Regions from separate parts of the Homo sapiens genome. Here all the other regions are linked to region 1. Evidence: promoter capture Hi-C in 16 types of primary human blood cells and fetal thymus (Javierre and others, 2016). All regions are on one chromosome and are shown on one strand. Each heading gives the region's core, a stretch centred on a gene start or on the middle of the fragment in contact. The rest is flanking DNA. Distances are from core to core; before and after follow the strand shown. Region 1 holds the start of KHDC1 (KH domain containing 1). Region 2 overlaps RIMS1 (regulating synaptic membrane exocytosis 1). Region 3 has its middle 180 kb from the start of KCNQ5. Region 4 overlaps RIMS1 (regulating synaptic membrane exocytosis 1). Region 5 has its middle 200 kb from the start of KCNQ5. Region 6 has its middle 160 kb from the start of KCNQ5. Region 7 has its middle 220 kb from the start of KCNQ5.

What was found. Contacts are between HindIII fragments. The CHiCAGO score rates a contact against its expected background, and 5 or more counts as called.
Region 2: a contact is called between a fragment that was not itself captured here and the fragment with the promoter of KHDC1 in region 1, in 3 of 17 cell types (total B cells, naive B cells and naive CD8 T cells). The highest score is 10.3, in total B cells.
Region 3: a contact is called between a fragment that was not itself captured here and the fragment with the promoter of KHDC1 in region 1, in 1 of 17 cell types (naive B cells). The highest score is 7.1, in naive B cells.
Region 4: a contact is called between a fragment that was not itself captured here and the fragment with the promoter of KHDC1 in region 1, in 1 of 17 cell types (naive B cells). The highest score is 5.3, in naive B cells.
Region 5: a fragment that was not itself captured here is called in contact with the fragment with the promoter of KHDC1 in region 1 in 5 of 17 cell types (naive B cells, naive CD4 T cells, total B cells and 2 more); the score reaches 9.0 in naive B cells.
Region 6: a contact is called between a fragment that was not itself captured here and the fragment with the promoter of KHDC1 in region 1, in 2 of 17 cell types (naive B cells and naive CD8 T cells). The highest score is 6.4, in naive B cells.
Region 7: a fragment that was not itself captured here is called in contact with the fragment with the promoter of KHDC1 in region 1 in 10 of 17 cell types (total B cells, naive CD8 T cells, naive B cells and 7 more); the score reaches 11.5 in total B cells.

Annotation. Positions count from the first base shown.
Region 1 is chr6:73,261,942-73,264,923 of GRCh38, reverse strand. KHDC1 (KH domain containing 1) reads left to right here and starts at 1,728. Exons shown (of 4, transcript NM_030568.5): 1 at 1,728-2,150. All of the region lies in intron 2 of LOC122539213 (KHDC1-KHDC1L), which reads left to right. It also overlaps the pseudogene KHDC1-AS1. RefSeq lists a silencer at 1,615-1,884. The HindIII fragment of the contact is 4,328 bases long and covers 539-2,982 here.
Region 2 is chr6:72,388,393-72,391,692 of GRCh38, reverse strand. RIMS1 (regulating synaptic membrane exocytosis 1) reads right to left here. Exons shown (of 34, transcript NM_014989.7): 30 at 957-1,095. Among named protein-coding and RNA genes, the nearest start is that of KCNQ5, 230 kb to the left of the region's middle. RefSeq lists a silencer at 779-979. The HindIII fragment of the contact is 1,949 bases long and covers 534-2,482 here.
Region 3 is chr6:72,438,678-72,441,673 of GRCh38, reverse strand. No RefSeq gene overlaps it. Among named protein-coding and RNA genes, the nearest start is that of KCNQ5, 180 kb to the left of the region's middle. The HindIII fragment of the contact is 710 bases long and covers 1,179-1,888 here.
Region 4 is chr6:72,370,753-72,374,150 of GRCh38, reverse strand. The region is part of intron 29 of RIMS1 (regulating synaptic membrane exocytosis 1); the gene reads right to left. Among named protein-coding and RNA genes, the nearest start is that of KCNQ5, 250 kb to the left of the region's middle. The HindIII fragment of the contact is 1,880 bases long and covers 484-2,363 here.
Region 5 is chr6:72,420,865-72,424,218 of GRCh38, reverse strand. No RefSeq gene overlaps it. Among named protein-coding and RNA genes, the nearest start is that of KCNQ5, 200 kb to the left of the region's middle. The HindIII fragment of the contact is 3,000 bases long and covers 1-2,965 here.
Region 6 is chr6:72,460,783-72,464,092 of GRCh38, reverse strand. No RefSeq gene overlaps it. Among named protein-coding and RNA genes, the nearest start is that of KCNQ5, 160 kb to the left of the region's middle. The HindIII fragment of the contact is 210 bases long and covers 1,253-1,462 here.
Region 7 is chr6:72,404,882-72,408,148 of GRCh38, reverse strand. No RefSeq gene overlaps it. Among named protein-coding and RNA genes, the nearest start is that of KCNQ5, 220 kb to the left of the region's middle. The HindIII fragment of the contact is 9,392 bases long and covers 1-3,267 here.

The sequences.
Region 1 (2,982 bases), core at 479-2,978:
ATCTCCGGGCTTACTTGAAGTTGTGTGCTCATTCCAAAATCTGCCTTGCTCACTCAAGAGTCCAGGTATCACTGGCCTTCGAGGTCATTAGGCAGCATCCAGTCTTTGAAGCAAACCATTCCAGGTTTTTGACTCTGCTTTCCTGTCAATGTCAGCTAGAGGAACTCTTCTCCCTGCCTTGGCCCTGGCTGGTCCTGGTTCCACTCTGGCTCATTTGCTTCCACACCTGGCCTATGATACCACATGACTAATTCCTTCCTGTGTGCCTCTGGCCCAGGCTTGCCAAAGGAATGCACTCAGAGCAGCTCTACCTATTCCTGTCCATCAGTTGCTGGTTGCGCACTGGCACTGCACATACCTGCTCCACAGAATCTTAAACCTTCAGGACTCTACCTGCTCACAGGTCCTGGGTTCCTACAGGCGTTCTTCATCAAGGGTGGGGCCACAGCTTTGCCCCAAGAGGGCAACCTGCCTCCTTGTTCCTGTACTGGCTTGAGACTCCTAGGCTGTGTCTGAACTAGCTGATAGGCCAGAAGCTTTAGGATGAAAAGAATACTGGAGGAGTCCTCAAAGTTAGAACTTTTATTGGTGTCTGTGTCCCCTCACTCATCTTAGCTATCTTGACCCTTCCCTACTTACCTTAATGATTTCGTGATTTCAATGAAAAAGACGCAACCTAGATAAGATTGCAAGGTCCCATACCTTCCTGGGGGCAGAGTTGACCTCAGACAGGGTCTTGCTTTGTTGCCCAGGCTGGAATGCAGTGGCGTGATCTCAGCTCACAGCAGCCTCAAACTCTCGGGCTCAAGCAATCCTCCCACCTCAGCTTCCCATATAGCTTGGGCTACAGGCGTGCACCACCATGCCCAGCTGATTTTTAAATTTTTTGTAGAGACAAGTTCTCCCTCTGTTGCCCCAGCTGGTTTCGAACTCCTGGGCTCAAGCGATCCTTGCTCTTTGGCCTCCCAAAGTGTTGGGATTACAGGTGTGAGCCACTGTGCCCAGCCCGACCTTTTGTTAATACTCCCATCTAATTGTCCAAACGGACTTGAACAAAAGAATCTTCTTCCCAATACTGCCAGGGAGGGCAAAATTCTTCAAATTCATGTTTGAGGCCATAAACGAACAGGAGTAAAATGGAATCCGCAGGAAGCAATGACAAGAAACCCAAAAACATTCATTTCCCTCCAGCCCAAGTGGCAGATGGGATCTCAAATACACCACGGTGTGATGCGTGACAGGAGGCATCCACTGGGGATGTGGAGCATTTTAAGTGCCCTGCAGAGGGTGGGCCTGGGTCACCCCCCCCCCCACCGCGACACCCCTCCCCAGGCAACATTCCTGGGGAGTCTGGACCTCCCTTGGTGGACCGACACCCGAGGGTCTCTAGGGTTTTTCACCCCATATCGGGGTGAACTGAAGGCATGGGAAGAGGCAGCCCCACAGCCTGGGTCCCCAAAACCCCCTCCGGGCTGAGAGCAAGAGATGCCGCCTGGAGGCCACTCACCAAGCAGCTCCGCTGGCTCAGCAATGGGGGTCGTCCGGGTCTGGGTCATTGCCACTGGCTCGTCCCTCCTCCCACCCTTGCTTCCTGGACTCAAGAGCTGCTGGGCTCTCTGCGCGCCGGCAGTGGGCTCCGCAGGCTGTCTCCTACACAGAGCAGGCGGGAGGAGGGCTCTGGGTTGCTTCCCGCGCCGCAGCCGCGCGCTTCCGGCGGGGTCGCCGCCACTTCCGCTCGAGCGCGCCTCGCGCGGCCGCGGCGCGAGCCGGGACCCCTGGAAGGGTCGGGTGCGCGGCCCAGGAGGTACCGCTGTCTCCTCACAATCGGCCAGGCCTGCAGCCGCTGCCGCCGCTGCCGCCGCCGCCGCCGCCGCCGCCGCCGCCCTACTCAGGGAGTGGCCCAGGCCTGCGGCGCGCCACCCTCACCTCCTTCATTCCTACCGTCAAAGCCCAGCCTTGGCTACCTGACCCCCCTGTGGTCTCGAACTCGGTTAGTCCGGTGAAGGGACAGAGAAGCCTGGGTTCCCGGCGGCATCACTGAGATGCTCAGTCCTGAATTCTGCCCTCCATTAGGATTATCTGCTTTGTGGGATAATTTCCTCATTGGTTGAGTCAGTGAGTTGCGTGTCTGCAAGAGAGCATCCTATCTGGTGGGTCTTCATCTAGATCTTGCACATTTCTTACTAAGTTCATCCTAAGAATATCTTACAGATAAGGAAAGTGAGCTGCAAAGAAGTGTAAAAACAGGGGAAACAGGAGATAGCAGTATAAAGAGAAAAATTAAAACAGATCGTGTGACTTTCCTCTATTGTTAATTGATTTGGGGACATTTTAAACTTATAGAAAGAAAAGAAACACGGGTTTTGTTGACACATCTCAAAACAAAATGGGTGTAACACCTTTAAAATGTAAACTATTGTGCTGGATATGTTTGTATTATTTTGAAGTCATTTAAAGTAATCGCATGAGGTGTTGCCTGCTGTTGGACCAGTAGTTTCTTTTTAGTATTCAAGCAAAGGCATAGTGAGGAAATAGTAAGAAAAAAAGAAGGAATGCTGTAACAGGAAACAAGGGAAAGGAGGAGCAGAGGAAAAGGGCAGGAAAGGTTTAACATTTACGTAGCACTTGCTATGCACCAGACACTTTTAAGCTCTTTAAATGTATTAACTCCTCTAGTTCTCACCACAGCCCTATGAAATGGGTATACTATTATCACCTCTGGTTTACAAAGAAGGCAAGTGAGGTCAAGAGAGGTTAAGCAACTGGCCCAAGGTTACACCGTAAGTGGCAAAACCTTTGCTTGAGCACATCAATTTGGCCCTAGAGTCTATGCTTTTTTTTTTTTGAGAAGGGCCTCTTTCCTGCTGCCTAGGCTGGAGGGCTGTGGCACCATCATGGCTCACTGCAGCTCCAACCTGCCGGGCTCAATGAATTCTCTCACCTCAGCCTCCTGAGTAGCTGAGACCGCAGGCACATACCACC
Region 2 (3,300 bases), core at 259-2,758, 870 kb after region 1:
TAAACAGAGACCAACTAGTTTCAGGAATGGGAAGGAATATCACAAACAGTAACTTGGCATAATTCTGTTAAATTTTCTAAACAATATAGAAAAATTCCAGTAAAGACAAGAAATTAGAAATATCAAATTGGTATATGAGTAATGTGAATGGTAATGAACAAATAATTATGGAAAATTTATATGTGGTGAATCTCCATGTAATCCAAAACAACACATTAATTACTTATTTGTAAGATCCACTACCTCAATAAAAATTCAATTTTACCAGAAATATTCTCAAGCATAGGAAGAAGCAGGTTTTGTGCAGGATCCATATGAAATGGTAAAAAAAAAAAAAAAAGAAAAAGAATCGAAAAGAGTAAATTTTTAAAAATCGTATTCTATTTTTTCAGAATTAACTAAAACATTTTAGTCAGAAAAATAATGAAGCTGATAGACCCTGGATTATTTCCTAAGGTAAAAATGAGTCAGCAATGTTTTAAAAACAAGAAAATGTAACTTACATATATGACAGTGTTAGACTTAGAAAAGCTTAGGGTCCAAAATAGCTTGGAGAAAATTAAGAAAATGGGAAATCAGTTCCTTACTTATAAATTTTAACTTGGACTTTGGTGACAGGGACAGACTATGAGTTTCCCATATGAAAGAGTCCATTACCTGTGGCATTTGTACACTAAACATCCAGTAAGGAACTAGTCTGGGCTTTCCTAGATGCAAGAAATCAATTTGTTCATGTGGACTCAGAATTTCTTCACCCTTTGAAAGGTATGAATGACCAGGTGTAGAGGTGTGTCCATGTGTACTTACTTATAAGCCATCAGGGTGGTTTAAAATGGATGGTTGAACTTCTGATTAAATAGAGAAGCTGCACAGTAACACTCAGTGGCTTTGTTATCTTACTGATTAGTACACAATTCCTGGTTCCACAGCCATGCAGACGTGCTGACAGCACTTACTTGCCCTCAGAGCTGTAACTGTTGATGCTGCCATCAGTAGACTCTCGGCTCGGCTGCCTTACCATCTTTCTCATTTCAGCTGCCATGCCTGTTTCTGTGCTTCTCTGGATGGTACTTTTTAACTTTTTGTGGCCCGACTCTGACAGGAGAGAGTAAAAGAAACTCTAAGTTTTATTTAGACAGTTTACTCCTGAATATCAATTGATCCTGCAAATACAATAGTTAATTTTACACATAATTACAAATTTAATCAGAAAAATAGTAACCTAAGGGAGTACTTTGCTTGATTCAGGCTCCTTGCCAAAGTATGCTTGGCTAAGGGGAGTACCACTGGATGCTATGCCATGGCCACAGTTTCAGTGACTGCCTAAATCTCAATCAGCCAAAATGAAATCATTGTATTATTGATGGTGACAACTTCAATGAAAATCTGAATTTGGCACCCAACTGTTCTGTGGAAAGATAATGGTGAACAATCTAATAGGTTTCTCCTAATACGGAATTCACTAAATGTGTATGAATAGTCCCAAAGGACAGGTCGTGTTCTTTTAAGGAGAAGGTGCATTTGGAACCCAGTTTGAAAAATACCACAGTTTTACTGTCACGTATCAGCAATCCTCATGAAGAGAAACTAGTATTTTAATTGATGATTTTTGCAGCACTTTAACATACACTATATAATATTTATACTTATTTCTACTCCATATAGATTATGGAGTTAGGTGTAACAGGTTTTATCTTAATTCAAAGACTACACAGCTACCTCATGGCCTTTTGACTCAGCTGCATGAGTTCTGACTGGCAGTTTGGGGTGTACACCTCCATTTGTACTGGGAATTACATACATTTGCATTTCAGTTCTTGATAAGCTCAGAGGAATTTTCTTGAGCCACTTTGAAATGCACTAACCAGCATTCTATTCATAGCATGGAAATAAATTCTAAAATATTTACTTGCTTACATGTATAAGCAGTATCAATAGGTTAGGAAAACTGTTAGACTTTATTCCATCTATACGTCCTATATAAATTTCTGGTTTTCGCTTTAGTTTCTGTATAGTATCATATAATACCCATTAATAATATATGAAAAATGCTCTATATACATAATTACATACATAACTACTATATAAACACATTAACTTTTCAATCCACATAAAACCTTTACAAAGCAGGTACCTAAATACACTCTTAGATAAGCCATTTGAAACACTGCATTTTTTCCCTCTCATTTTTGGTCACTGGATTCCTTTTGTAAATTGTCTAATCAAAGATATAATAGGTTATGCTATATGAACTTAATGCTGATCCTTCCTACACATTTAGTATGTTCATTAAAATTTTTATTTTTTATTGTTCTTAACCTTTTTATTGCTATTTTTGCTTACAAAGACAATATATGTATATTACAAAATATTTAAATGTTACAGAAATTGCCAACATTGAATGCCCCCTATAATTTCACCACTCAAGGAAGACAATGGTTAGTAATTTGGGAACTATTTTTTCTTTATACCTATACAAGCTTCTTCACTTGGCTACTGTGATCCACATTCTCCGTTTTTCCTTCTTTGACATTGGTTGTTACTTCCCAGTCTCTTCTGCTGGATTTTTCCTCTTTGAGATTTTTAGAAATAGACAATCCCTAGACCTCAGGCCTCAGACCTTTTGCTTTCTTCTACACTTACTTCCTAGGTGATCTCTAACATAGCTTTAACATAGCTAACAAAGCCACCTATGCCCTTGTGCCTCCCAAATATACATCAAGGTCTTAACCTTTCCCATAAATGCTGAAGTCATTAATCCAATTGCCTAGTAGCTCCATTTACAGATCTGATAGGCACTTCAACATTAACATATCCAAGACAGAACTCTTCCCCACCTCCACCACACTACCACCTCCCACTACTAAATCCTCCTCCCACAGTAAATGGTACTACAATTCACTTGGGTGATAAGGCCTAAATCCTTGTAATCATCTTTGATTCCTCTAACACACCCCACACCCAATCCATCAGCGAATCCTCTTGGCTTTGCCTTCAAAATGCATCACAAGTCTGGTCATTCTTCTTCCTCTCCACAGCTCCAACCCTATGTCCAGACACTATCATCACTCAAAAGAGCAGTGCCATACCCGTACAGCTAGTGTCACTGCTTCTATTCCTTTCCTCCTCAGAATATTCTTGACATAACAGCCATGGTGAGTCTTTAAAAATGTAAATCTGAATATATCATTCCCCTGCTCAAGATCTTATAATGATTAATCACCAAAGTAAAATGAAAATCCAAAATTGTTATCGTGGCCCAGGAAATGCCATATCATCTGGTCCTTGGACACCTCACAT
Region 3 (2,996 bases), core at 284-2,783, 820 kb after region 1:
ATGCTTATAATGAATTTGTAGTGGCTTTATCTGAAGAAATCAATACTCATAAAACATCTACCCATGTTGTACTATTTTATAGAGTCGGGTTAAAAAATGATGCTCCTTAATAAATTCAAAGACAGAATCTACCTTCTATCTTTCCTGTAGGGGTAAGGCCCAGCTCTGAAAGAATAATGTTTAACTAGTGGTGATTTTGCCTGGTGATTTTAACCAGGAGACATTTGACAATGTCTGGTGATACTTTTGGTCCTCACAACAGCAAGATGCTATTGGCATCTAGTGGAAGAGGCCAGGGATGCTGCTGAACATCTTAAAATGCACAAGACATCTCCCTACAAAAAAATTATTGGAATTATTGGGTACAGTGGTAGAAGAGACTCCTCTGTACCTTCTGCTCGAATTTTATACTTCTCTAAAAAGTGAAATCTATTAAAAATTATCTAGCCCCAAATGTCAATAGTACCAAGGTTGAGAAACCCTGTCCTGAAGGAAGCCATGAGAGTTCTTTACTAATTCTGAACCTACTTTCAATTTTTATGACAATGCTAGCTATTGTAAAGGAGAACAATTTTGTATACATATGCTTCCAAAGTGAGTTCAAATGTACATTTCTTTTTTTTCAAATCAGAAGATGATGCTATACTTTAGTAACATATGCTGCACAACATCACCCTCAAGATGAAGCCATTTAGCTATACCACAAATATGAGCCATGCTGAGGTGAGAATGAAATTCACTTTTAAATGAACATACTTATGCCAACAGAGGTAAACTAAATTAGAAGTATGCGATGAGAAATTTGGTCTCAGAATTTGGCTATGAGGGATGACCTACTTTGTGGGGGGTGGGGGGGCTCATTTTTGATTTCCAGAATCTGTGTGTTTCCCTCATTGCATGAGTCTTCCATACCCACACATCTTGTGGGCCATATGGTGCTCTTTTGGAATGACTTTCATTTGATTTTCTCCTTTTCAGAGATTTTTTTTTTTTAAATTTTCACTCTGTCAGAAAGCACAGAGGTCCTTGAGGAAGGGTCTTTTGTCAAAATGCTCTTCTTAGTAGTAGTGACCTTTGATGATTCCACTAGGATTCTTAGCAGAATAATATATCTTCTGAAAAAAAAAGCAAAAAACAAACAGACAAAAAAACCAGAAGTATAGCCTACTGGTGAAGCTTAGAGAAGCATTTTATATAACTTGTTTGGAGGAAGGAAGGAACCCACTCTTCATTTGGGGTTAGGACTTCATTAGTTTCCTCATGGGGAAAATTCACAGATTTCTTTTAGGCAGGGGTTGTGTGATGGGGAAAATGGGCAAGCACAGAGGTGAGTTAGGGGTTAAGGATGGGAGAATACAAACGTCACTTACTGGGGAGTTACTCACTGCAAACCTCAGGGCCATGGAAGAAAGGCACTTGACAAAATCACGTGTGACCTGAGATGTTCAGCAGTGAGGAAGATGAGAGAAAATGGCTCACTACTTCTTACAAGGACCAACCCAAATACGGGGGGACTTCAAAAAATACATGGAAAAATGGAATTAAAAGACAAAAATTGCCAACTTTATTTTTCAACATAAGCCCCATCAAGTTCGGGACACTTCTGAAAGCTATGATACCAGTCATTTAGTCCATCCTTAAAGAAATGAGAGTTGGGAATGTAGCCATGTCAATGCCATCTTTTTTTACATTAGTAACTGAAGAAAAATGGTGCCCTTTAAAGATTAGTTAAATATTAGGAAACAAAAGAAGTTAGCAGAATTTAAATCAAGACTGTAAGGTGAAAGCCTAACGATTTTCCATCAAAACTTTCACAAAATTGCCCTTGTTTGATGAAAGGAATGAGCAAGAGCATTGTCATGGAGGAGGCAGACTCTCTGGTGAAGCTTTCCCAGGTGTTTTTCTTCTAAAACTTTGGCTAACTTCCTTCAAACACACTCATAATAAGCAGATGTTATTGTTTTTGCGTCCCACCCCCTGCTCCTGGAAAGTCAACACACAAAATGCCTTGAGCATCCCCAAAACTGCCGTGATCTTTGTTCTTGATTAATCCACTTTTGCTTTGACTGGACCTCTTCCACCTCTTGGTAGCCATTGCTTTGATTGTGCTTGTCTTTGGGATCATACTAGTAAAGCCTTGTCTATCTCCTGTTACAATTCTTCAAAGAAATGCTTCAGGATCTTGATCCTACTTGTTTAAAATTTCAATTGAAAACTCTGATCTTGTCTGTAGCTCAAGTGGGCACAACATTTTTGGCACTTACCAAGTGGAAAGTTTGCTCTGCTTTAATTTTTAGTTCACAGCTGTGTAAGCTGAATAAGTTAAGATGCCTATGGTGTTGGGCTACTGTTTCTGCTGTTAATTGCTGGTCCTTTTCAATTGGGACACAAACAAGATGAGTGTTTCCTTGCAAGTATGTGTGGATGGTATGGCACTGTGAGCTTCATCTTCAACAATATCTCATTCCCTCTTGAAATGAGTTATTCACTTGTAAACTGCTGATTTATTTGGGACATTTTCCCCATAAACTTTCATAAAGCATTATTTATTTCATCATTCTTCCACGCAAGTTTTACCATAAATTGATGTTCATTCTTGCTTTAATTTTAGCAGAGTTCATGTTGCTCTGATTGGGGCTCTCTTGAAACTCATATCTTATCCTTCTTAGTGGCTCAAATTAGATGCTGTTGAGGCATGTTATAAAAAGTTAGTACAAGTATATTTTGGTGCAAAAAATTTAAAATCCATGCATTTTTTCAGAATATATATTTGTTTTCTGTAAACTTTTAAACTATCTATTAGTATTGAAAATGCCAACAGGACAGCAGGAGAGACTCACGATTAATTAAATACAATTAAGGAGTGGAACTTACTGTACCAAAACAGAACCTGCTCACTTCCCAGAAAGCCTGCCCAGACTTTTAGTTTTCCATCCATTGGTCTTCTTTAAATGTAATTTTTCAGCTTCAGTGTAACACTCATTTGCAGATGAAGC
Region 4 (3,398 bases), core at 174-2,673, 890 kb after region 1:
ACGAGGTCAAGAGATCGAGACCATCCTGGCCAACACGCTGAAACCCCATGTCTACTAAAAATACAAAAATTAGCTGGGTGTGGTGGTGCGTACTTGTAGTCACAGCTACTTGGGAGGCTGAGGCAGAAGAATCACTTGAACCTGGGAGGCAGAGGTTGCAGTGAGCCAAGATCCCGCCACTGCACTCCAGCCTGGTGACAGAGTGAGACTTCAACTCAAAAAAATAAAAATAAAAAATAAATAATAAAATTAGGTCTTTAGTTTTCATCTCACTACTCATCTTTTAAAAATTAGATGAACATGAACTTGAAATATGCAATACAATAAAAAGTATACTGGTGAAGAAAAAATCTGGTGGATTAAGGTTTACCAATCTTCAGAACTGCATTACTGTATCTTAAGGAATTGACTAAATTACTTCAAGTACAGTATTTAATGATTCTGTGGGAGAAAAAAAAATGTGCCTAAGCAGATGTCTAAGCTTTAATGAATGAAAATGTTAACAAAATGTGAGATAAGAATGATAACGTATTACTGACTCTAATTTAATTTGACATCCTTAGCAGAATCAATTACTTTCTGCCTCTCTTCTTTCCAGTTTGCTTATTACTCTCAAGGCATTGTCCTAAATTGACTATAAACAATGACAATCCTGATAATTTGAGGAGTAGGAGGTGTGTTCAGTGTTAATCACACACAAAAATGTTTGATTCTGGTTCAGCCACACTTCAATAAGTGGGAATGAATGAACATGGCCATGAATGTGGAATTGATAACTCTTCCTGAGAAGGAAAACACTGTAATTCACAAGGTAAAAACAAACCTGATACTTTTTCATTAGAGCAGGAGTATATTTATAAGAATATTAAATACTGGCTTATGCAATACTAAAGCAGTACTAAAAATAAGCACTGAGCTGAAAACCCTGAAATTCAAATTATCGGTGGGTTAAATTGATCCATTTTAGAATAGAACAGATCAGAAACTTAGCATTGAAACCTTAAAAATAAATGACGGAATCCAAAGTCTGATCAAAGAATCCAAGGTGCAGTAAGGTTAAACCCTTAGCCTGTGGTTACTTAGCTCCTTACCAACACAATGAAAATTAGAGCCTTAATTTTTCCACTTCTAAGTCTTTGACCTTTACTGTAGATAAAACTTTAATTTTAATTTTGTTTAAAAAAGAATTGTCTTATTATGAAAGCAGTGGACTGTGTCCTTTATTCCCAGGATTGTTTGTTTCAGAAATCACACACATTGTTACACTCCATTTGTTCACACTCTTAACAGGCCAAGTCCAACCTCCAGTGACTTTAGCATCTCCCTGCTTCAATAAATTGTTATGTAACAGGTCATGCAACCTGGCGGCAGCCATATATAGTTTCCCAACAATGAATAGCAAACCAATCGCTGAAGATTAGACACAGTCCAGAGAAACCACTTTTAGTTCTTTCCGATGTTCTTAGAAACAGGGAGATTTTGTTTGCAAACCTAATTCTTAAGTATGCTCCTTCAAATTGCCCCTACAAAGGTACAAAAGGGAGAAAAGTACTGTATGTCCCTGTTTACTCTAAATTCTTGGTAAATTGATTTTGGCTGTATTTCTCTGTACAATAAGTTCACATTTTTTGGAAAGAAAATAAGCAGTCAAGTTCTAAATCAATCTCAGGAAAAAAGAGCATTTTTGTAGATTTTAATGTTTCACCTACCATTTGCTAAGTTAAACACATAAAAAAATCTTTAAAACATTAAAAAGATGGAACCCTAGAAAGCATGGCAAAAATAATTATCTCAGGAGTACATTAACAATTTTGATGAGAAATGATGGGTAATTTTGTAAAGGTTAAATGCCATGGAAATATATATCTTCAATCTCAATTGTTGAATGAGATACTTTTACCTTTTATTTTCCTTTCAAGAAACCACACACAATATAATATTGACATGAAAATTCATGATTCTCACCAACACATGTTTATGGCCTGTCCAACACAGATTATGAGGTCTGATTCTGATCCAGAAATTTCAAACAGGCTTCTAGAACCACAGGCCTAGAATCCTTGGCCCAGGTATTTTAGATTCTTGTTTTGAAACAGCCTTTAAGATTGCTGCCTTTATTCTAATACTCCACATTCTGACTTGCTGTGAGCCCAAGATGATCTAGACTGTTTCCTGGTTAGACTGCAACCCAGAGTAGAATAATTATATTCATAAAGAATTCCACTATTTGATAAATATTTTCAGTTTTTTGGATGAGGAAACCAAGGATGAGAGAGGTTAAATTATTTTGCTGAGATCATCGCCAGTAAATGGCAGAATTAGAACTCACATTCAGGGCTTCTAGCTCCAAGTTACCAAAAGCTTTGCCCCTTAAAAGGCACCAGGTGAACTATGGCTAAGGGGCTCGTCTATCTACACAGGGACTGGTTGGGTCCTGCCCATTGCCTCTTAACTTCCTCTTGAATGCTGGCCAGCACTTCAGGACGTGACCTAACAAACTACATTTCTGTCTTCCTAACTCTGGCCTTCAACTGATTCCTGATTCCTTCTACCTTTCTGGTGTCCTTGGGAGAGAAGTTAGTCAACTTTTCAGGGTATACTTCACACTTCAACTACATATGCAAATAAACATAAAACTGTAAAATTCAAATATGGACAAAGTTTCAAGTCTTAATTAAAGTTGTCTCTTTTAAGTAGAGCACTTTAAAGTAGTGCTCTACTAGAAAGAAAAACAGGATGACAGTTTGCTTACACATCTTAGCATCTGCAGAAATCATGTTTCTCCAGGAGAGTACTGTTATTTTACCAGAGTAATAATCCACGAATTTTTTTCAAAGACATATTTTGACTTACTAGCGCTTGTAATTAATCCTATGATAGCATATGGCTGGGGGGATGTCACACATAGGTGAAATATCAATTAAATAAATTTGCATAAGAACCACCCATAATAGACCCTCCAGACCACACATGTGCACACACAGCACACATACACACATACATACACATACAGACACAGACACACAGAGATATGAGAGAAAAGGAATAGCTTTCATTGTTATAAATGCTTTAAATGCTTTTGATCAGAGTTGACAAATATAATTTTAAAATTTCAAGTTTTTCATATAAAAAATCTCATATTTTTAGGAGAAGGCAGATTTTCTCATATCCGTTTGTCTTTAACTTTCATGGGAAGACAAATTTCTCCCATACTTCCTCCCAACTACATTCTTCTCTACATCAAACCTCTCCTCCTTTTCTGTACTGGGAGAAGGTATCCCTCCTCTTCCTCTGCAGCATTCCTATCATATAGTTCCTTTCCTCCCTTTTCTTCTCTACTTTATTCTCTTTATTTGTACTCTTTAAGCCCCAGTACTCCCCAAATTTCTTTTTTCACA
Region 5 (3,354 bases), core at 216-2,715, 840 kb after region 1:
GGCAGAGCCAGAATTCTGTATCCAGAGCCCAAGCTCTTAAATCAGATGCTATATTGCCTCATATAATGCATCAAACCTGGAATTATGATGATAAACTGCAGTGCATAAGTTTGTTCTTATATATGGGAAGAGCAAGGAGATAAGTGAGAGCTACGCAAAGAGAAATGAGAATCAAGTCATTCCTCTTTACAAATTATACCTTTTCGCCGTATTTAGATAAAATTTTCAGAGTTTCATTTGTTTTGTTTACTTATTTTTTTCTCATTCTACCTTAACTCATGATGTGCTGGTAAGTTTTTAACAACTATTTTTTGGAATAAAAATCCCTGATTTATAACATTTGCCAGTTTCTGTGGTGTAAGTAATCACACCATGGGTGATTTCATGCTATTAATGTGAGTTGGGAGGGATATGGATATTCAGATTAACGAAGCCTAAAAGATCAACACAAGATTAATGAAAGATTAAGGAAGCCCAAGCAAGATCAATACAAAGAAGGAATACTCCAAGGCACATTATAATCAATTAGTCACAAGTCAAAGACAAAGAGAGACTCTTGAAAACAGCAATAGACAAGAGACTTGTCACATGTAAGGAAACCCTTATAAGCCTATCAGAAATTTTTCAACAGAAACCTTGCTAGCCAGGAGAGAGTAGGGATGATATGTTCAAAGGGCAGAAAAAAAGTAATGCCAACCAACAAGACTATGCCTGGCAAAGCTGTACTCAGAAATGAAGAGCTAAAGACATGCCCAGGCAGACAAATGTTGGGGAGGTCATTACCACTGGACATACCTTACAAGAAATGATAAAGGTTCTTCATGTTGGAATGAAAGCATGCTAATTAACAACATGAAGACATATGAAATTTAAAAACCCAATGGTAAAGGTAAATATATGGTCAAAATCAGAATGCTCTAATACTGTAACGGTAGTGTGTAAGTCACATATTTCTAACATAAAAGTCAAAAGACAAAGCTATTAAAAGTAATCATAACCACAATAATTTGTTAGGGGAACAATATAAAAAGATGTGAATTACGACATAAAAACATAAAATATGCAGGGGGAGCAAAAATGTAAAGGTTTTGTATGTGATCATAATTGTTATTAGCTTAAAATAATCTGTTATAACCATAAAAATAACCTGATATAACTATAAATGTTCTATGTAAGCCTCACAGGAAGAGACGTACACCAACAGCTCTTATAAACTGGCTTCAGCATGTCACACTGTTTATAACCTGCCACAATGGAGCATTCACTTAGTAGTTGAAAAAGTGATAAATTCCAGAAGAAAACTGTTTTGAGGGTTGAGAGATTTGGAATCTATGCTATTTTTTGTTCATTGAGCTCATTCCTAAAAAAAATCTAGAGAAATGAAGCAATTCTCCCTCGTAGATTTTATGGTATTCCATTAAAAACCTAGGAAGGCCTGAATAGTTTCTCAGGTTGTGAGCTGATTCCAAAGTTTTCAAGTTGAAAGCAATGAGTTTATCCAACTGAATATCCAGAAGGGAGAGCTACACCTCTGACATTGGTGCTGGATAATTTGCTGAATTAATTCTCCAGTGGGACAATTAGAGCCTTTAACATCTATCGTTAGGGAGGAACAACTCATGAAAATAGGGAATAAAATTTTCCTAGAAATTCATCTATGAAAAGGTATAATTTATAATATATATTCAGTGTTCCCAGTGAGAGCTGATCCTGGGAAAAGTGCCATGCCACTGCTGGCCTCAGTGTTCTGGCACAGCACTGTTCTGCTGGAAGAAACTGCTCTCTGCAGAAACTTTTATCTCTCTGCGCTTAGACTTCCAGAACACTCAGCCAGCCAGGAGAAGGTGTAGGCACAAGAAGCATGGATACCCTGAGGTGATGCCTGTGGGTAGAGGAGGTAATCCCTGAGCTATGTGAAACTCACCCAGGCTCCATCCCCTAACTATAATAAAAATCCAAAGTACTTGCTCTTCTCTTGACTCAAGCCATTCCAGAAGAGCTTGAATACCTGCCATATTCTCCCTAGAGTTTCATTATATGAGTAATATTCATACCCTCTGGGTGCATGTATAACACCATCAGTCCTGATACCCAAAATGATATTGAGTGGGGAATTGATCCTTCCCTAACAGGGCACCCACAGAACACTAAAAATAAGACTGTTTATGTCATCTAAAAGAGACCAGAAAACCTATGGAATTTGTACAATCACATGAGGGAGAATCCTAGGCTTTCTTATTGGCTTCCGGGTGAGGTAAAAGGGGAAGGAAGAAGCGTGGGGCCTGAAAGCTGCCAGTGATTAAACATCAAAATGAAGTCATCACATTTAGGTATTAAAATAGTCAAGTATACTTGTGCTCCAAATTTTTAATATGTAGAATATCAGGGTAGTGTGCTGGGTGATAAGGACATGGAAGTTCATTATACTATTCTATTTTCGTATGTTCGAAAATTTCTATAAGTTTTTAAAAACCCGAGTCCAGTCTTGCTATGATTTGGTTTGTCTCTGCCAAAGATCATGCTGAAATTTGATCTCCAATGTGGAAGTGTTGGGAGGTGGGGCCTAGTGGGAGGTATTTGGGTTATTGGGCAGATCTCTTATGAGTAGATTAATGGCCTCCTGTGGGGGCAAGTGAGTTCTTCCTCTTGCAGGAATGGATTATTTCCTGACAGCAGGTTGTTAAAAAGAGTCTGGCTTCCTCAGTTCCAATCTTTTCCTTCCTCCCACCATGTCATCTCTTTGCACATGCCAGCTCCCCTTCCACTTTCTGCCATGAGTTTAAGCAGCATGGGGCCCTCACCAGATGCAGCTGCCTGATCTTGAATTTTCCAGTTGTCAGAATCACGAGCTAAAGAAATCTCTTTTCTTGTAAACTCCCAAGTCTCAGGTATTCTGTTATAGCAACATAAAAAGGATGAAGATAAATCTAACATAAAAACTTCAATTTCTCATGCAAGTGAAGCTTCTCTCTTTTTGACAATATGAGCCTAATTCAAGCTCAAAACCTGTAGTAGAGATTGGACACATGATCAGATGATCAGTTTCTTTTCCATTTTCACAAATTTCTCAATTCCTCTTATCTCTGTGTTGTGTCTGAATGCTCCAGGGTTGTGTTGAAAGCTGGGAAGAGAAGGAAGGAAATGAGAAAGTTGTTATCTAGCAGTGGTTGCCCTCATGGTTGTGAGAGGTACCGAAATACTGAGTTTGGGGGCATTTACTTTTATGGTTTCATACTGACTTTCTGAATCCTTCCACTCGAGACTTGCTGCAGCCCTAATTCTTATGTGAAGTAATTCAATCTCTGATCGGCCATGTATAACCACCCCCTGCCCACCTTCATTTCCTCTAACTGG
Region 6 (3,310 bases), core at 108-2,607, 800 kb after region 1:
ATAATTATCTGGTGGTACTGTTAATGATCTTTATTTAGCACATGGAAATAGAATTTTAGACCTGCAAATATAAGTCAGAATTCTAGAACATAAGAGCTTAAAGAGAACTTTGGGATAATTTAACCACACTGAAGTCCAGGGAAGTCAACTGACACTTAGGTTCACATAGCTAGCAGAGAAACAGCCCAGACTTGTTGAAGGATATGTTTAGAGCCCATTGTACACAGATTATGAATTAGCAAGTCTTTTTCTCCTCTTCATTTTCATTGATTGTATCTGATGTAAAGGGAATGATCAGGAAGCATTAAGACAAAATGAGTAAAGTGAAAAGCTGTGCATGTTGCTTAGTCTATTTGTGGCACTTATGTACGGTTTGGTGTGAAAAGAGGTTGAAACTGGTATCTAAATTGAAATCTTTCTCTATCCACTGCAAATAATAAGTAGTTGATTATGTAACCACTGTGGAAGATTGTATTTTCCAAAGTTGGGAGTAGCAATATCTCTCATCCCATGGTTTACGATGTGACCTTACCACTCCCCTCATCCAGAGGTAGAGTCTATTTTCCTACCTCCTCTACTCCTCACCCTCGACCGCTGTCCCTGCCCTGCCTACACTTGGGTGGTCCTTTGTGACTCCTGGGTAAAAATGATGTATAACTTTGGAGGCTAGGGTCACACAGGGCGATACTGATTTCACCTCTATTTTGGGATGCTTGCCTTTGGGATCCAGTCACTATGCTGCAAGGGAAGCCCAGGACACCTAGAGATGCCACTGACAGGTGTTCTAGCTGGAAACTCCAGCTGAGGTGCCATCAAACAGCTGTGTGTGTGAAAAATCATGTAAAATAACTCTAGCAGCCACTATCATCTGAGTGCAGCTGCTCCTGTGACCCTGGACAAGAATTGCCTAGACAAGCCCCATTTCCCTGCCAAACAATGAGAAATAATAACACATGACTGAGGTTATTTTAATTATTAAGGTTTTGAGTTGGTTTGTTAGAAAGCAATAGATAAGGAGAATACTACTCCTATAAACAGGAAAGAAGAAAGGTAGGTAAAAGCAAGTTATTATTATTCTTTAAAAGACAAAAATTAATTTGGAATCAATCAGACTCACATTCTACAGTACAAAGCAAATTGATTTCAAAGAAAATGTGAACTATTATCAAAGCTCATAAGGCTCTAGCAAAACCCATAGATAAGAGAACATATAATGGAGTGGGGGCGGGGGGTCAACAAGATTTTCTAAGCTTGAAATGGGAAATTATGTAAACTCAACATTATTGTACATACATATTTCTATTTGCTTAAAAAAATAGGCAAGATGACCTTACGCATCTTTTCCACCTCTAACTTCCACCATTCTATCTTCATCATGTGGGTGTTCAGTTTGCTGAAAAAGCCAGATTTCAGAACAGCTTTCTTTCAGAAATGATGTTTTTAAAGTTAAGGAAAAAAAGCTTGCCACACTGTAGAAGTGGCAGCTATAAAAATAGACATGAAAATAAATTGAAAATTCATAACAATTGTGCTGAAAAAGACGCACTGGGAATTGAATTACAAAGTAAAATGAATAAAGTGGGCTTTTGATTAAATGAGTGCACCAAAGTATTTACAGTATGATAATATGTTGGAAACAGCTAGAGATACTGCAGAATAAATGAAGAAAACACTATGAGTATAGTGCTAGGAAAGCACCATCTCAAAGCATAAGGCAAGGGTCAGAGAGCTGGGTTAATTCTATGCTTTAACAGAAAGAACACTCAAAATTATGCCTAGAAAATGCAGAAAAAATGGGAACACAATATGTCAAAAAAGTTTTGTACTAATAGGAGGATACTAAGGTAGAAAACCAAGGGATTTGGACCAGGTTGTGTAAGATAAAAGTACATTCCTTTCCTCTGCATGCATCCTACCCCCGCTGTCCTCAGACACATATCAACACCATACGTTTTTAAAGAGCAAAAGTGACTCCATGTTCCTCACTTACATCTGCACAGATGGCGACAATTATTCATCAGTTTCCTAACAATTTCTCTTCACTTTCTAAGTAAAGGTTGGAGACCTTAGTTGGACTGCAGTTCTAATAAGATTTAGGATTTCATTGATGTTCCTCTACTAGTAACTATTTTTGGCTAGCTTAGCATCTACTCAGTGCGGCAAAGTATACAGAGGTCTAAAGCCTATAAGCAACTTCTACATCATTAAGGAGACAGAATTAAATTAACAAAGAATAATGAGTGCTGGAAAAGTCTACACCATGTTAATGGACAGAATGCACTGGATAGGAAATTTGAAATTTGGGTGAGAAATGACAGACTGAGAGAGGAAGTCATTCTTGACAAGTGCCATGCTTTATACCTGGTACGTAGTAGGTGCTTTAGAAATATTTATTGAAAAATTAAGCAAGTAAGGCAAAACATGTGAAAAGGGGACTTAAAACTGTGTTAGGGAGTAGTCCAGCCTGGCTAGAGAAGTGAAGGCAAGGTTTAATGTCAAGGAAAAACCAGATAAAGGAGGCCTGGAAGGAAGGTGATGCGTTCATTTTCTATGGTAGAAAAATGGAAATCAATAAAACTGCCTGGTACTCAAGAGAGATTACTCTGACAGCAGAATATGATATGGATCAGAAAGAGAAACTAAGTGAGGTAGCATCAATTTCAGTTCTTTTCTGCCTTGGCAGGCTTGTTGCAAATGTTTGCACTTTGTGCTTAGCTGAGGAAAACAACCTCAAAGCAAGATGTGTGTTGTGGAGGGGAGAGTGAGGCTGCTGCAAGAATGTTAGGATGCACAGCTGGAACTGGCTTTGTGGTTACTCAATGTGGCTGGGGAATGCTGACGTGTAGGCAATTCATTTTGAACTAAGACTTCTAGAAAAATCTCATGAGAAGGCATATGAAATATAGCCTTAGAACTCAAAGGATGAACTACACTGGAGCTACTGCAGCACAGTTACAAGGAGTATACCCTCTTTACATCATGATGAGTACCAAGAACCAGGCTTTCTTGTCAGAAAAGAAAGGCAACCATATACCTATATTTACCTTAGACATGAGGAACACACCTTACTTAAAAAAATAAACAAGAAAAACCTTTGGTAGGATAATTCCTACATTAAATTTTTTGCATCTTGGTTGATTCATTAAATGTCTGTTATGGGGGATAAGAATCTATATATGTCATTTCACTGGAAATGCAGCAATGTATATTTGTAAGGATTTGAGATAGACTGCTTGGGTTTGAATCTACCACTTACTAGTCCCATGACTTTAGGCAAGCTATTTAACCTCTCTGTTCCTCCATTTCCTTA
Region 7 (3,267 bases), core at 301-2,800, 860 kb after region 1:
AAGTGCCCTATGGTAGAAGCAATCCCACTCCTCGGTATATACCCAAGGGAAAAGAATTCATTCTATCAAAACAGACACATCCACCCATATGTTCATTGCAGCACTATTCAAAATAGCAAGGACAATGGAATCAACCTAAGTGCCCAACAGCAGTGGATTGGATAAAGAAAATGTGGTACATATACACCATGATGGAATACTATGCAGCCATAAAACAGAATGAAATCATGCTCTTTGCAGCAATATGGATGGAGCTGGAAGCCATTATCCTAAGTGACCTAAGGCAAGAACAGAAAACCAAATACTGCATGTTCTCGCTTATAAGTGGGAACTAAACACTGAATACACATGAACATAAAGATGGGAACAATAGACACTGAGATCACTAGTGAGGGGAGGGAGGGGCCATGGGCTGAAAAGCCATTTGTTGGGTGCTATGTTTACAGCCTGGGTAATGAGATTGCTGACACCTCAAGCCTCAGTGTCATGCAGTTTATCCATGTAATAAACCTGCACATGTACCCTTTAACTTGTAATAAAAGTTGGAATAAAAAAAGAAACATGAGAAGCCTCTAAAATTACACTTGATCCCATTCCATACTTTTTAACAGACTGAAAATGCCTGTTCTATGATAAAAATAAAGAATAGTATATTTTGTCTTAAAAAAGAACTCTATAGTAGAAGAAAACACAACCACTCAGTAGAAAAAAATTCTTTTTGCAGACACTAAATAATAAAATGTAAAACAATCATACAAAAATATTTGCAAAAAGTATTCAGTGACATACTGGAAAAAATAGTTGACAGAAACGCATAGCCAATGCAAGAAGCATCTTTAATAAACACTCAATGAAAACCAAAGGCAAAACATTAGGAAAAAACATGAATTTAGGGTGGAGTGAACATGATGGCAGGAACAAGCTAGAGTGATGTAGGCGTGTGGTTTCTGATGATTTTATGTATTGATAGAACTTGGAAAATGCAGAGGAATGAATAGATAAGATAACACACATAATCAGAAAAGCCGCAGTTGCATGTTGCGGGACATAAATAGGGAAAGGAGTGATAGAATTAAAGTACATGCAAAGGAGGATGAAAGAGATGATCCAGCATCTGAAGAGAGAACCTAGACTGACTATACAGAAAAGGAGAAAGAAAAAGGTGGTAATTTCAGTGAAACGACTCAGTTCCTCTGCTCCTGGAGAAATTGGGGAGAATTCAGTGATATGGGAGCAGATTTGCAGGTAGAGAATAGGTTGGGAACCTTGCATTGCAGAAGGCAGTTAGAGAACCTTGAGAGGCTGAGAATTTCTGGAACAGAAAGATTGTGAGGCTTGCTAATGAAATCATCCAGGAAATGGCACTGAAAATGGTGGTTAGAAAGCACATTTTCTAAAGCTAGACTCGTTCTGTTGGGCTGGGTCAGAGAGGGTGTTCTCTGTCTGCTTCTAAGAGGTGGTGCTCACTAAATGCAAAGGTTGGTCTAGAAAAGGAAGGAACAACCAGCCCTACTGAAGATGCACAGAATGGCCTGAAGACAAAGATGCACAGAATGGCCTGAAGACAGCATTATGTGATATGGGCTATTGAAATTAGCACTCCTATCACCTGAACAGACGACAAATCCTCCTCTGTTTTTATCTACCAGTACTGGAAAGGGACATTGTATCAGTGGTGGTGGATCAGATAAATGATCAGGAAATGAAGGCCAGATTTGTCCAAGAGTTTTGTGTTCATATGAAGTCTTCACAAGGTTAACTTAGACTTCACAAAGTTAGGTTTATGCATAATGGTTATAGGTGCTAACATTTATTAAGCCACTTACTATGAATTCAGGTTTTGTCCTAAAAATGTAATATTTACTATTTACTTTAATCCTCAAAATAATTGTATGAGGTAGGTGTTATTATTATTCCATTTAACAGATATGTTTTAGTGTATTTTATGTTAGCCGTATGTCTTCCTGCGTGCTATAGATATAATTATAATGCCATATTCCTCAAAATGTCAGTCTGGAGTCTTAGAAATATTTAAGGCACCAGATGAGTGGCTCCATAATTTGGAAGAGAGGAGAAGATGAGTGTCATCAGAGTGAGTGTGGTTGGATGTGGCCAATCTTGAGAATTTTTGTCCCACCTTTCCTAGGTCTTGAGAGAAGAGAAAAAATGGATCTAGAGCAGACACAACTTTCCCAACATGTCCTTCTCTAAGGCAGAAGCATTCTCTTTTTTCTAGTAGCATCCATATTGCCTTGGGAGAACTACCCTAACTTTTCTATGTGGTTTGGGTGCAACTGCCTGGATTTCCTAGATCCAGGGCTGGACTCTTGACACAAGCCTGTCTATCAAGGTATTTCATTTTTCTGGTCAGAGATATTTGTTCAGCATTAGGCATGGATCAAGATGATCCAAAGGAGATTCTGCTGGGATGATGGGACAATTGTGGGTTTTTTTAATCCAACTAATACATTTACATTTACAAAAACCAATTGACCACCAAGTATGTGATAAGATAGGTATATACTTTAATTAAAGGAGTTCTGTGGTAAGAGCTATAGAGCAGCAGTCACCAACCTTTTTGGCACCAGCGGCTGGTTTTGTGGAAGACAGTTTTTTCCATAGACCCAGGGGGAGAATGGCTTCAGGATGATTCAAGTGCGTTACATTTATTGTGCACTTTATTTCTATTATGACATTATAATATGTAATGAAATAATTATATAACTCACCATAATGTAGAATCAGTGAAGCCCTGAGCTTGTTTTCCTGCAACTAGATGGTCCCATCTAGGGGTGATGGGAGACAGTGACAGATCATCAGGCATTAGAATCTCATAAGGAGCACGCTACCTAGACCCCTCCCATGTACAGTTCATAACAGGGTTCACACACCTATGAGAATCTATTGCTGCTGCCAACTGACAGGAGGCAGAGCTCACTTGCCTGGCTCACCTCTGGCTGTGTGGCCCAGTTCCTAACAGGCCACAGACCAGTACCAGTCCGTGGCCCAGGGATTGGAGACCCCTGTTTTATTGGGTCTGACAACCTAGACTGGGGTTATTAATGAGCAGCAGGTGGGGTAATCGGAGGAGGCAGGGTAGACAAAACTACTTTTGAAAATTTAAAGAATAATTCTTTGTTCTATCTCCTTTACTCAAACTGTTCCTGAAGTCTGCATATTATGTATTCATGAAGTTTGATAGTGCAAATGGTGAGTGGTCAGGGGAGGGGGGAGAGAGAGCAGGGAGAGGGAGAGGGAGGAAGAGAG